Regions from separate parts of the Homo sapiens genome. Here regions 2 and 3 are each linked to region 1. Evidence: promoter capture Hi-C in human tissues and cell types (Jung and others, 2019). All regions are on one chromosome and are shown on one strand. The core of a region is centred on a gene start or on the middle of the fragment in contact, and the rest is flanking DNA. Distances in the headings are between cores, read along the strand shown.

Region 1 (4,753 bases), core at 953-3,452:
ATTTAACTTTCCATTCAGTTGGGGTCATATATTTCAATCCTAGGGTAAAGAACTATGACCTTGGCTGGAATCATCAGTCCCAGTTACTCAATGGGGCACTTCTGAAACATCGCAGACTCATTTTGACTCTCCACGGGTGTGGCTAAAATTGGTCCTGTCCAGCCCTAAAGCTTATATGATCTGATGTCCCTCCGAAACTCACTATGAGAAAACTCATGCAAAATTTGCCATAGAGATCAAGGTTTACAGGACCCTTGGAGCTAATCTCTCTCTGCCCTCCTCCTCTGTTAGCTGTTACAAGCCTTCAAAAGTTAACAGGGTGATGGAGCCTCTCTCTATACAATCATCTCATCTCACTATCGTTGACTGAAACTCGCTGATGTAATGAAGTTACATAATCACCGATTATGCACGACTTCCATCCATCTTCCTACATATCCACATATCTTCTCCCCTCCCCTTTGGATCAATCTACCAGGTGAGATTTATAACATATGTAAATGCTCCACTCTCTCATCACAGGCACTGAATATGGAACTTTAGCATTGCAGTACAGTGCACTGAACCACGTCATCAATATTGATTTCTTTATCCCATTTCCCAGGCAGAATATGCTTAAACATCCTTAGTGTTCTAGTCTCTAACTTTTTACCGAAAGGGTAAAATAGATGTAGCAGACAGGACACATCTTCAACTTAAGGTTAGGGGAAGTATGTAATTAATTGCCTGCATTTCCCAAGCTGGCTGCATTGCAATAAAAGGACGGTCTCTGCTTTCAGACCTTCGACTCCCCTGCACGTGGGTCTCAGCTTCAGCTATTTAGGATATTGGGTAAATAATTATATTATTGGGCAATTGAACTTGAGAAAGAAAGCACTGTGGTGATATTTAAGATAATGTTGCCTTATTCTTCTCTATGTTAGCCATCATTTTTAGCTTTTTCTTTTCTTTTCCTTTTTTCACTCTGAGTGATAATCCAGTAGATAAAAAAGTAGCCCAGGGCGCTTAATAATCTCCAGTAACCACAACCTAGAGAACAATTAACGATGATTATCACCTTAAAGTTTAAGAACTTGACAAGTGGGATGTCCCTGGTCCCATTGCGGCTGTGAAATGCAGCAGAATGCTGCACTGAGTTGAAAACATATTTCTTTTAATGCATAGAGAGTAGCTCGTTTCATTTTAAATGGGGCTCTTCACTAAGTGTTTCTTTTACTGCTGCTACCCCTTCCAGAACGCAGGGGCCACAAATATTACATTCAAACAAAGAGTGTCTACCCAGAATTAATTCAAGACACTCTTCCATATCAAAATAATTGGGGGAGAGAGTGATACTTTGATTTTCAATTGCACTCAGAATACGGGCACACATACATATACACACACACGCACACACACATACACACACACACACACACACACACACACACACACACACACATATCAACACACCCAACTGCAGTTATTCCATTCAGTGCCAATAACGGCCACATCACAGCCATCAATGCGATGCAGCAATCATTCAAGTCACCCATTCCCATTACAAATGCCCAAGTTTGCTCATGCCACTGATGGGTTTGCATATATAAAATGACCTTACCCACAACAGTCTTCCAAATTATTCTCCTCTGGATATTAGTCGGTAAGGTAATTGCTGGTCATCACAATGCGTATTCAGAAAAATCCACGTTTTACTCCTGTGTTCTTTTTCTTGTTTTTGCTAGCAATTAATATTGTGAACAAGATTCCCATTCACAAATGCCAAGTTCACCATAAAAGCAGATAATTCCATACAGATCTTCCCTACAAGACTGTCTCCAGTTAGTTCTCAAAGTGCCCGATTGTTTGCTGAAGATACAATCCAGGTGCAGAGCAGGAAAAAAAAAAACAGACTAGGAGAAAAATGAAGAGGCAGATAGAAAAGGAGAGACTGAGAGAGGAGAGAGCAGAAAAAGAGAGGGGAAAATAAGAATAATTCTTAAAAAATAAGGAAGGAAAAAAGCCGATAAGTGAGAAGTCTGCGAGCTCTATGACAAGAATTGGAGTGTTGCTTGCAAATCTTCTGAGTACATGCAGCCTTTCAAATCCTCCTGGTCCCCAAGTAAAATTTCCAGATCCGGGATGCAGCCATAAGAAAGAATCCTATGTATATTTCACAAGTATCCCGCAATAACAGATCCGACGGGGTTTTCCTTGTACAGTACTGCTATGTGAAAGCACACAACCCCTGCTGTTTGGGAAGGTGTCTCCTGGGTCCTAGCTCTCCTCAGCAGCCCCCAAAAATGATTTTTCAAAAAAGAGTCGGGGGGGGGGGTGGGAAAAGCAGCTTTGCGTTTGCCTTGAATGATGCTAATCCTGAGCGAAAACCACAAGCAAAACACGAATAGCACGAGATCTTGATTAATAGCCACAATCCACTCAAAATATCCCAGGGAAGAAGGAGCGAAAACAAGAAAGAGAAACTGCAACGCATAAATGATTCCAGTGTTTCTACAAGATCGGTTCATTTGATTGAATGCATTCTCTGGTTTGCTGCAAGTCATAAAGAGGATAGTATTACTGCCACCCAATGGATATTTTAGTACTAGCCAATCCACAGACAGCCACCGCTTTGCGAGTTTGAGTTCTCAGAAGACCGAAGTGGAAGGAAGGTAGCCTGGGAATCTTTTGGAAAGGACCCTGGGAGGCTTCAAATAACGGAAATCTGTTCTTCCAGGCAAAAGCAGACTGGCAAATTTGGATGCTTATACAGTCTTGCCTTAGCCACCTTAGAATTATGGTTCCATTTCTCTAGGAAGCAGAAAGATACAGAGAGTGATGCCTAAGCCGACACACTCTTGATAACCTCCTTTTCATCTCTTCTCTTTGAAGCAGATTTATTATTGCGCGCGACCCTCCCACCCCCATCACTGTCTCCCCAACGCCCCCATTCTCCGTATCACTTTAAGATGGATTACAAGAGAGAAGGGGTGCGGGGGCTGCTCCAAACAAACCTCAGGTGCTAAGATGATAATTGTTTCTAAAGGGCAGTTTTGCAAAAGTGCCTCTGTCTGTATTGATATGCAAACTGTGAGTCCTTCAAGCAGTAACCCTCCTCACAGCCGCGCTTTCAGTTTGGGGGAGGAGCAAAATCTTCCCTAAGTGAGTGGGGCTTGGGAGAAGGGTGCCTGTGGAAGGCTCTCTGGGAGTGCGGGGTGGGGGTGGGGAGTGGGAGGAGGAGCGGAGGGGAGGGTATTGAAGAGGATCCTCCTCCCATCCACCGCGTAATTGAGTTCCCTGCAAAAGAGTTCGCTGCTGGTTTCTGAGATGAATTTGTGATGAAGAAAGAGGGTCAAAGTAGGTACGGGTAAATACATTAGGTTATTTGCTCAATTTAAGGTCCTTGACCATTTACATTGGGATAGTATAACACTCACATGTGATTCCGTGATTCTCAAACTTTGATGTACACACCGTCACCTGGGTGTCTTGTTAAAATGCAGATTCGGATTCGGTACATCTGGAGTGAGGCCTGAGACCCTGCGTTTCTAATAAGCTCGCCCGTGGCCCATAATAATGTTGCTGGGCTGTGGACCACATTTGGAGTAGCAAGACCCTTAAAAAATGTTAATGTTTACACTGCAGCAACAGTGTCAGTTTCCGGCAGCTGAGTAGGCTGGATGATTAAAAGGCAGCGAGCCGCTTTTCTAGTTACTTCTCTCCCTCTCCCCACCCTGCAACCTTTCCCATTCAACACCGGCAGCCCATGTACTTAAAAACCTTAACCCATTTTGTAATGTATCCCACAAGCTTTTGTAATGGCAGGCTTAACCGGATAAACCAAAAATAGAATAAATAGGTAAAGTAGCCTTGGCCCTTCAGAACTGTTTTAATTTGGGGAGTAAAACACGCATCAAGATAAAGAAAACACTTTAAAAATTAGGTAAAATGTGAGCTAAACGAATACAAACTAAGCGCGCAGGTGAGAATAACAGCAGGCAGGGAGACTAGACAGGGAGGTAAAACTGTATTTCGAAAAAAGGAGCAGTACACTGAAATTTCCAACCTAAGCAGAGGGAAAATGTGGTTAAAGTCGGTAGGCAAGTCTTACAAGGTTTCTTTGAAGCTAACTCACCCATGTTCACATCTTCTGTGCCAGTGTTTTTCTTCCCTCTGCTTCTTCCCCACATGCTATAATTCAGCCTAAACTGAAGATTAGAAGTGAAGAGGAAATATATTCCCCTCCTTTCAACGTGAGTGATCTAGATTTTCTATACCTTCCATCACAGTCCTCTAGTTGACCCAGTTGAATGTGAATAGACCTCAAGCAGACCTGGAGGGGGGCACAAGTAACAAGTGTAAATGTAATTGCTTCAAGCAAAATTTAAAAGTAAACGTCTTGACCGTAGGCTCCAATCCTAGATTTGAGTCTAAATTCTACTCCTAAGTAGCCATAATTACCCAAGGGAATCACTTTAATTTCTCTTGGCCTCAGTTTCCTTGTCTATAAAATGACAGGTTGAAATTAACCAGTTGCCAACGTGCTGTCCAGCTCCATATGGTACAAAAATCACGTCCTCTCTTTGAAATGTTCTGCAAGTCAGTTTGTTACTGTACACAGAGAAGGAGTTATGATTATTACCTTGACATGGGCTGCAGAGAGCATCTAGAAGCTTTGAAAAGCATCTCGAGGACACAGGTGAACATTTGACCACTTCAATCCTATTTCAAGAGATGATTTAAAGTGCTTTCATTTCAAATGAAATGATCAGAT
Region 2 (4,753 bases), core at 583-3,082, 510 kb before region 1:
AGTTGATTGCTCTGTAATTAAATACCCAATAAAATATAGACCATCAAGGAAGAAATGGGTGTCACTGGTCTTAACTACTAGAAGGAGCAACACATATTCATATTTGATGGAAATGCATAAGGGGCTGAAAGCTTAAACAACTCCTTGGATACTTTGGGCAAATGAACAAATGGCCTTAATGGTAGTTTTTATACTGTTGTTTTCAAGTGGAGAAGCTTCAGTACTTGCTCTGCACCTTTGGAAAATAGACCTTGTCTCGTGTATGCTTTTAAGACACTCAAATGTGTCTATATTTCCAAGAGCATCTGAATCAGAACCTCTTTTTTCTTGGAGTTCCAAGAGTCCATCTAAAATCTCTATCAGCGTATAATTAACTGATAAAAGAAATGTTAAACAAAAGCAACTACAACACAAAAATTTGCCAGGTAGGGCAGGGTTACCTGATAGATTTTCTATTCCTCTTCTGTTTCCATGACACTCTTAGGAAATTTAGTGAACGTAAAAGAATGGTCAAAGTATGGGTGTTCCAGTACCTTCTAAGATTTAGGAGGAAGCTATAAAGTATATTACTTTTTGATTTCATAAATTAACATATCAATGTTGGATCTAAAGATGATCTTAGTGACTAAATTTATAGCTTAAATGATTTGTTTCAGATGTATGCTCCACTGAGACCTCTTGACGTGGAAATCACAGAATGAAAGGGTGTGCCCTCCATAAGTTCTTTAATTTTTAAAAAATTATTTTATTTTATTTTTGGCAGAGCCAATATTAGTCTAGGGTTCAGTCTTTCTCACCCTGGGAAACATTTCTACATGGTCTCTGAATGATTCCCAACAATTCTGTGATGACCAAGGTACGTGCTTTTTACTAAAATCTTAGTCCTATACCTCATGTAAAGGCCATTTTGGACCTCAAAGAAAATCAATTTCATCATAACATCTTGAAAAACTTTCTTCATACATATATTAAAATAAATATATATTTAATTTTTTTAAATTTCTTACATGTTTTTCCAGTTCAAATCATTTACTTTCTTCAAGGAAGTCTTTATTTCTGGGAAGAGATATTGTGAATACTAGGACCTAAATAGATTATTTTAAAACAAGCTGATCAAATTTCATTATGTAAGCACAAGTAATAACCACATTGGGTGAATACCCTGGGTTTCCATCTAAACAATGTTTTTTATAATTGGCAACTGACCTTACATTATAGGTATTTTCACTCATGGGACTGGCCAGTGTTTGAAAAAATAATCAGATAAAAATTAGATTCTGTACGAGTAAGCATTTTTATAATGAAATTATATTTACATTAATATACATAGACTAATTGTATAGCTATATTGGCTACAGCAATATTTCTCTTCAGGGAGAAGACTTACACAATTCTGTTGTAAGAACAATGGCTGTATTTGAAGCTGTTTAATTAAAGCATTTCTGGGGGTATTTTTTCCCCACTCTTAACAAATCCCTTACCAAGGCACAATTAGATAAAGCAACCACAGGACTAGTTTTTGGTAGGGTGCTGCACTGAACAGTATATTAAAAAGCATTGTCTGACATAACTTGAAATAGACTTGACTATTTTACGTGTGAGTCCTAAAAATGTTCATGGGGATTATCAAAGATAATTAAAAATTCAGAGTGTTGATACTCTTTAATGTAAGAGAGTTAGAGTTTGTGTTTATCAATCAATCCCATTTTAAAGTGGTATGAGCAAGGCATGTGAGGCATTTACTTTTCAAATAAACAACTGAACTTATCATATGTGTCCAGGATTTTTGGATTTTATTTGTATTGCCATTAAAAACAAAGCAAAAACTTCTTTCAAGGTACTAGCAAAAATACAACACATGGCCCTTAAATTCTTATCTCTAGGCAGCCCTCTTGAAAGATGGTAAAAAAAAAAAAAAAGGCAAATGCAGTATTGCCATGAATTCAAATTATATCAGGACATCTCATAGTATATAAAACCTATCCTTTTGAAAAGGTACCATTATTCCTTGAGAAAATCATAAGTGATAGCTGATTTATTTCTACCCAAAAGATTAAGGTCACCATGTTATACATGCAATGAACAGATAATCTTGCCAGAATTCTATTAACTTAAAATAGATAAATTTATTGAGTTTACCATGTGTCAGTCACTATGATACAGCATGGATTAATGGGCTTTGTTCATTTAGAGGATTCTCAAACCCTGAAGCCTAGGGAATATCTTGTGGACTGTTTGAGGTAAAGCTTGAACATTTGCAGTTTCAACAATCCTAAATATATTAGTAATTTGGGTATTAAGCTAGACCTCAAAGCCACTGAATTATAGCAATGTAAAACTATTAAGACAGAGCCCCTGAAGTTGCAGACTACCATCAAATGACTAATATAGTAAGAATTGCCTTCCACACCATCACTATAACTGTTCAGGTGAAGCCTAACAGGAAGGCAAAAACAACACCTTTCTAAAATTTAGAGCAAGAGAAATGATAAACAAGTCTATGAGAAAAAGAAATCAAAGAAAACATATCTGTCCTTTACATGGAAAATAGCATCATATTTTGTCAAAATATATGAATTTCCATATCTTGTTGGGGAAGCAAGAATACTTTGTCTATACTAAAAATAAAATAATAATATAATCCAAAAAGAGAAAGGACTTTAAGATACATGAATGTGAAATTCTCAACTAAAGTAAATTACTCCTAAAGTGAAAGCTATAAAAAAGAGATGGAATTCTCACTTAACTGAAATTAAAAATCAATGTAAATGGAGAAAGATATACACAAAAATCTTAAAAGTAGTTAATACCAGGCAGTGAGATCAGTAGTTGTTTTCTTTTTTTTTTTTTTTTTAGTTTTTAGGTGTGTTTTCTATTAAATAGATGTTTCTTTTTTTTTTTTTTTTTTTTTTTTTTTTTTGAGATGGAGTTTCACTCTTGTCACCAAGGCTGGAGTGCAGTGGTGCAATCTCAGCTCACTGCAACCTCCGCCTCCTGGGTTCAAGCCATTCCCCTGCCTCAGCCTCCCGAGTAGCTATGATTACAGGTACCTGCCACCATGCCCTGCCCGGCTGATTTTTTTTTTTTTTTTTTTTAAGTAGAGATAGAGTTTCATCATGTTGGCCAGGCTGGTCTCAAACTCCTGACCTCAGTTGATCCACCCACCTCAGCCTCCCAAAGTGCAGGGATTACAGGCGTGAGCCACCATGCCCAGCCAATAGATGTTTCTTTAAGTAAAACAAAAAATCTAGAAATTTAAAAGAAAACCAATATGTTATCAACTACGATACAACTAAAAATCCGCCTTATAACAATGCCATAGTGAATTGAAAGGCACTCATTGTAAATTTCAGAAATGCATTACATATTTTAACATTTTTAGAGAACTCATTTTCATCATATATTAAAATGGGCATATATACACAAAAATATATAAAATAGCTACATTTATATGGGAGTCAAACATATCCCAAGAGGCTTGTAAATTTGGAACTGGTTTTAATCGTCAGTGATCCCAAAGGGGGGCATGCACACTCATGGTACAAGAAATAATTTTTTAGGGGTACCCAGACTAAAGTATAGGTGCATAGACTGTGAGAATGAGGTGGTAGGGAATATTAAACCAGGTGAGGTAGACAGTAAGGAAGAAAAAAGAAATATTTCTTGCTCTGGCTCCTTATAATCACATTTATACATTCTTGATTATGCTCTCTGCTATTGGGTTTCCAGGGAAAGGCTGGGCAAGAAGGGTTGAGGAGAAACCTGGGAATGATCCCTCAGGGCTAGGCTCGCCTACACTTTGGTTTCTTGGGACCCACAGACCAGGCCTGGAGCCAAAGTTCAGGATTTTGGGTATGCAGCAGACCTGTAGCATCTAATACCTTACCATTGCTCACCAAGGCAGTAAGTTTAACTTAAGAGACTAATCAAATCACTTCACCTTGTCTGATCTCAGTTCCCTAGCTGCAAAGTAGGAGTAGAAATAATGCCTACCTAGGAAGGTTGTAGTGAGGATTAAATGAGATGATAATTAATGTAACATATTTAGCATAGTACCTAACACATAATAAGTGTTCCTTTATAGAACGTGTTCTTCTACTTTATCCCAGCCTGCATCCTGAGAACATGTCTTTCTATCATTCATGCTTTCAACCCACAAACAACTACCAATAACAAAGTGATACGGTTTGGATCTATGTCCCCACCAAATCTCATGTCGAATTATAATCTCCAATGCCTGGTGGGAGGTGACTGGATCATGGAGGCAGATTTCCCCTTTGATGCTGTTCTAGTGATGGTGAGTGAGCTCTCTTGAGATTCTGGTCATTTAAAAGTAACTGGTATCTCCCACCCCCCTCCTCCTGCTCTGGCCATGTGAACTGCCTGCTACCCCTTTACCTTCCACCATGATTGTAAGTTTCCTGAGGCTTCCCCAGAAGCCAAGCAGATGCCAGCCTTATGCTTCCTGTACAGCCTGTGGAATTGTGAGCCAATTGAACCATTTTTCTTTATAAATTGCCCAGTCTCAGGTATTTCTTTATAGCAATATGAGAAAAGCCTAATATATCAAGGTCACCTGATTGATCTTGTTTGGCAGTCATATTTTAATGAAAATTTATGAAAAGATGGCTAAGTAACTTGATATAACATCTTTGCAGTTTCCAAGCAACATGGCAGTAATGACTGGTTAATATAGATTCTATTAAATAACGTAGCCCATTCTAAAGAGCAGAAGCTTCAAATGGCCTCTTGA
Region 3 (4,753 bases), core at 1,145-3,644, 460 kb before region 1:
GGAGGATCCCTCGAGCCTAGGAAATTGAGGCTACAGTGAGCTATGATTGTACCACTGCACTCCAGCCTGGGTGACAGAGCAAGATTATGTCTCAAAAAAATGTGTTTCCAAATGAATATGTACATGTACGATGAAAAGAAACCTAATAAAGAACAATATTTTTACTTGGCAATTGCATGCTCTGTCAGCAAAAGAACTTGTGTTGGTTTGTATTGCCATGTTTTCATTTACTCATTTAGTTACCATATTTTGGAAAGCCGATAGTGAAATAAAAAGTACAGTGAATTCTGAACTGGATATCAGGCCCAGAGACGCTTGCAGTTGAAGTATCCAAGTTAAAACAAATCTTTTGCTTCTGTATTGTGCTCAATATCCATCGTATGTGGTTATAGGAAAGGCTTTGAGTCCTGACTGTCCCACTGCATTATGATCCACCGTGACAGCAGTAGCTAAATAAGGTACCTTGGACCTCTCGAGTTTTCCTGTCCAAGTTTCATCTACCATTTTTCAATCACTAACATTGAATGCTCCTTCTATTGAGCTGCCTCTAGAGGGCAAAACAATCCCTATATAAAAAATATTTAAGTATTTATTAATCACATACACACACACCCATGCACACAGCCTGCCGGAGATTGGAAAACTACCACATGTCAAATACATTACAGGCAATCTTGTCATTCATGAGAAAAATAATAAATGTACTAGCTAATCATGAAAAGCAATAGAGAATAAGAGGTCTTCTGGTAATATTAGTTCATTTCCACTGCTAAACTTCCACTGTGGGTGTTAACAAGTTTCAAGACTTATTTTGTTTTCATTGCCCCATTTTTAAAAAATCTATTACATGTGGATAACACCAAATGCCGCCCACCTAGCCCCCTAGCATTCGTTATGAAGATTAATAGAACAGTACTGGGCAGGATTTTCCATTACTCTGAAGAAATAAGATCTGCAAATACAAAAGAACATTATTAATGTGTATATGTCACGGGTTGGCTGGAAGAGTCTCTGTAACTGGCCACATATTAATCATTAGGGATTAAAAAAAACAGAGCAATGAGATCTTTATGTTGTTTTTTTTAACCTTATAATAGGAAAAATCATCATAAATATCTTTTTATTTATTTATTTATTTATTTGTTTAGAGACGGAGTCTCACTCTGTTGCCTAGGCTGGAGTGTAGTGGCGCGATCTTGGCTCACTGTAACCACCACCTCCCAGGTTCAAGTGATTCTCCTGCCTGAGCCTCCTGAGTATCTGGAATTATAGGCACCTGCAACCATACTCGGCTAATTTTGTATTTTTAGTAGAGGTGGGTTTCACCGTGTTGGCCAGGCTGGTTTTGAACTCCTGACCTCAAGTGATCCACCTGCCTTGGCCTCCCAAAGTGCTAGGATTACAGGCATAAGCCACCACGCCCAGCCCATAAATATGTTTTAAATGATTTCTGTAACAGAACTTCTAAGACCTTAAAAAAAAATTTCCTTCAAAGTTCCATCTGGTTGTTATTGTAATAAAAATCCTTTGTCTAATTCAGCTTATTCAATTGTCTCAACAGCCTTGCATTGCTATAACCCAGGGGAGCCGTCTGTCAGCAGACATATTCCAAGCTCCAGAAAAATAAAACTTAAAACATGATACCCTCTAAGCTCCCCTGAGATGAGTATCAGCTTGACAGCTTACAAGATGTCTGGGTTTGTTTCCTCCACTAACCCTGTCAGAAACCAAGGGGAGCTCGAAATTAAATAAATAAAAGCCCTATTAAGCCAAAGCACGTCACATTGAATAGTTAGTTTTATGGTCCCATTGGGTATCTTTACATTCACTTTCAATTTGCTATTATTCTTTTAATGGATTACAGGAGGGTTCAGATCCATAGATTAGCCAAGCCAATGAAGGTCATTGGCATTCTGACACAGTTGGGTGTTCATGAAATAAAGGAGAACGCATGGGATGAATTCATGATTCATGCCCAAATGAAGACATGCCATGTAGGGGGAAATATTTTTATAACAGTGGTAAGCTTTGACACCTCCATGCATGGATTCCAGTCAGGGCTTTAGACCCTTTATTAGACAGTGAAAAACGTTAAAAAGAACTGGTGGACTCGGAAAAAAAGTTAAGTGACTTTATGACGTGTCATTATTTCAAGACATAATTTGCTGGATTTAAGGCCCTGAAAAAAAAAGATCACATCTGGCCACACCCTTGGTAAGAGAGGTAGGTTACTCTGAATAGGAAGAAGAATGGATGAATTAAAAATGAGGATAGGGGATGGATTTTCAAAAGGGGGCAAATAAACTAGATTTCATGGATAAAGAGATCACAAACATAAAAAGATCTGAAGCCAATATAAGGTACTATGGCAGCCATAGAGAAATGTAAGTATTTCACACATCATCACAATGTTGGTGTCTTAGTCAAGGGTGTTATGTTGCTTGGTGAGCACCTCTGATTCCTTTTAATATCATGCCTCAGATGGAACTGCCTTAGGAAGAACAGGTGTGTGACAGCCATGAGAATATTTATATCAATTTTCCTAGTACAACCAGGACAGATGTGTGATCTAAGGCAATTTTTAGCTTTAAATTAAATGATTTGTAAGAAGTTTTTTCTTTTGTTTGGAATCAAAACATCAATTAAAAATCTATATACACTTTCCCTACATTTTCGTAGAAAGTCCAAGTAGTTATTAATTTTCTCCATGACTTATTACTATTGCTATCTATGGTAAAGTGAAAGCAAGTTTATTAGAGAAGTAAAGAAACAAAAGAATGTCTGCTCCATAGGCAGAGAGCCAATTTATTATTTTTATACATAACAGTAAGATAATCTGCAGAGAAATGTCCATTTTTATGTGTGTTCTGTAATATATACAAATCTAGAAAGGGAAAGGAGGAACGCTTTTGTCTTCTGTTGTTCTCCAATTCAATAAAACTTTTCCTACAAAAGATGAATAATATAATATAATTACGCTTACAATGAGGGCTGAAAATGTACAGGTCACTTTACTAGTTATTTTATATGCATGAGCTCATTACATCCTCAAACAGGTCTATTCATATGTTATATATGATAATCTGCTAATAGGGAGTTTAAGAGTCTTCCCCAAATTACAAAGTCATTGAACACACTTATATGTGCCTTCAAAGTCAATCTGAAAATGTCTTTAATGTTCCTTGGAGTCATTCTTACAACAGTTTCTAGTTCCAATGGGAACTAGAGAAGAGTGGGGCCTAGCCACAGTTAAAACTTTTATGTGTCCAACTAGTAGTTGTCTTCCTGAAGAAACAAGTGAAAGGAAATCTTTGAGAGGCACTGATGAGATACCAAGTTCCATTCAGTCTTAGTTACCAAATTCATTGGGCCTCTATGGAATAAGAACAATCTGGAATATCTAAATATAGTTGTTCTGCTCATGGCAGAAATAGGCATGTGGGCCTATGTTCTGAGCTCCAGCTAGTAGGGGTAAACTGGTAAAATGAAAATTGATATCTTTTGGGGGAAGAAGGAGAAGATGAAGCTCATGTTTTATCAGAGACACTACAAATTAGGTTTCATTTCTGATACTGTCCCAGGAAGACATTGTAAACTCGGGCTCATATTTGTTCTCATTTCCTTTCTCCCCCTCTTAGCTATTACTGCATAGAAGGAAAACTAGAAATCACTTGTTCCAGCTCATTGATTTTCGATAAGGAGGATATTATTATCTACTTTTTACAGATGAGATGACAGAATGTCCGTGCTTTAGTGAACAGCTCATTGTGACAACAATTATACTGTACTGGAAACATACTGTTATCATAAAACTGTCATCTTTTTGGCTGAACCTAAGTAGGTGTTCAGTAAATGTTTGTAGAAGAAATAAAGAACTAATACACGGTATATGGGTTATTAGAATTCCCATCATCTCAACTCCATCTTCTTTGTCATCATTTTCTCCTTCAGCACACTGTCACTTACTTATTGCCTAGTCTATACTGTTTCTGTCTTTGTTACCAGAAATGCAAATGAAGACAAACTGACAATGAATCTTGAAAGTACTTTAAAACAACACATCATCGTTTAACTGTAAAATTTTCTGCTCGGTTGCTTGTATAAATTGTATAAATTGAGATAAACTAGACTATAAGCTCCTTAGAGGCAGGATATCTTTCTCAAGTCTGTAAGCTGTATCAGTGGACCTAGCATGAGGTCCAGCAAATACTCATAAATAAAAGTTGGTGGCTACATGCAGACAAAGAGTACCAGATAGCAGCAATAAAGTTGAGAGTAAATTCCACCCCCCTGCCTGCAGATACGTCCCATGGGATCTCAGGGAAAGCAGATTAAGATTTGAGATAGGCTTCCAATGTTCTCTACATCATATGCCTTTTTATAAGTGAAAAGAATGAGTTTTTCCTTAATACTCAAGGGTGCAGACATTCACTGGGCTGCTTGAAGACAAACTCAGTAACAACATTTGCTAAAATATTTATGCTCTATGAGGAAACATGATAACACAGCTATCATTAAGAAGGATTCATACACTCTTGGTTAGAATTCAGTCCAAAACTCATTCCACTATAAAAGAGGACAATTCCTATTAAACTAGAAATGCTACACCAAATATAATATATTAGAAGAAAGGTAAAATGTCCTCTTTATTTTCACCATGTTTGTGCTTTCACACTAACCAATCATCTGCAACATCTACAGTTAGCAAATAAACCTGAAACAAAGAAGTCACTGGCATTTACTGACATGAGCC

What was found. The method cuts DNA at HindIII sites, captures the fragments that hold promoters and counts their contacts. A contact is called where the count stands out against the background at its distance.
Region 2: a contact is called between a fragment that was not itself captured here and the fragment with the promoter of IL1RAPL1 in region 1, in 1 of the 25 tissues and cell types used here (hippocampus).
Region 3: a contact is called between a fragment that was not itself captured here and the fragment with the promoter of IL1RAPL1 in region 1, in 1 of the 25 tissues and cell types used here (hippocampus).

Annotation. Positions count from the first base shown.
Region 1 is chrX:28,584,895-28,589,647 of GRCh38, reverse strand. It overlaps IL1RAPL1 (interleukin 1 receptor accessory protein like 1), which reads right to left and starts at 2,202. Exons shown (of 11, transcript NM_014271.4): 1 at 1,601-2,202. The HindIII fragment of the contact is 4,831 bases long and covers 1-4,221 here.
Region 2 is chrX:29,092,939-29,097,691 of GRCh38, reverse strand. All of the region lies in intron 2 of IL1RAPL1 (interleukin 1 receptor accessory protein like 1), which reads right to left. Among named protein-coding and RNA genes, the nearest start is that of MIR4666B, 480 kb to the left of the region's middle. The HindIII fragment of the contact is 3,318 bases long and covers 174-3,491 here.
Region 3 is chrX:29,040,824-29,045,576 of GRCh38, reverse strand. The region is part of intron 2 of IL1RAPL1 (interleukin 1 receptor accessory protein like 1); the gene reads right to left. Among named protein-coding and RNA genes, the nearest start is that of IL1RAPL1, 460 kb to the right of the region's middle. The HindIII fragment of the contact is 6,360 bases long and covers 1-4,753 here.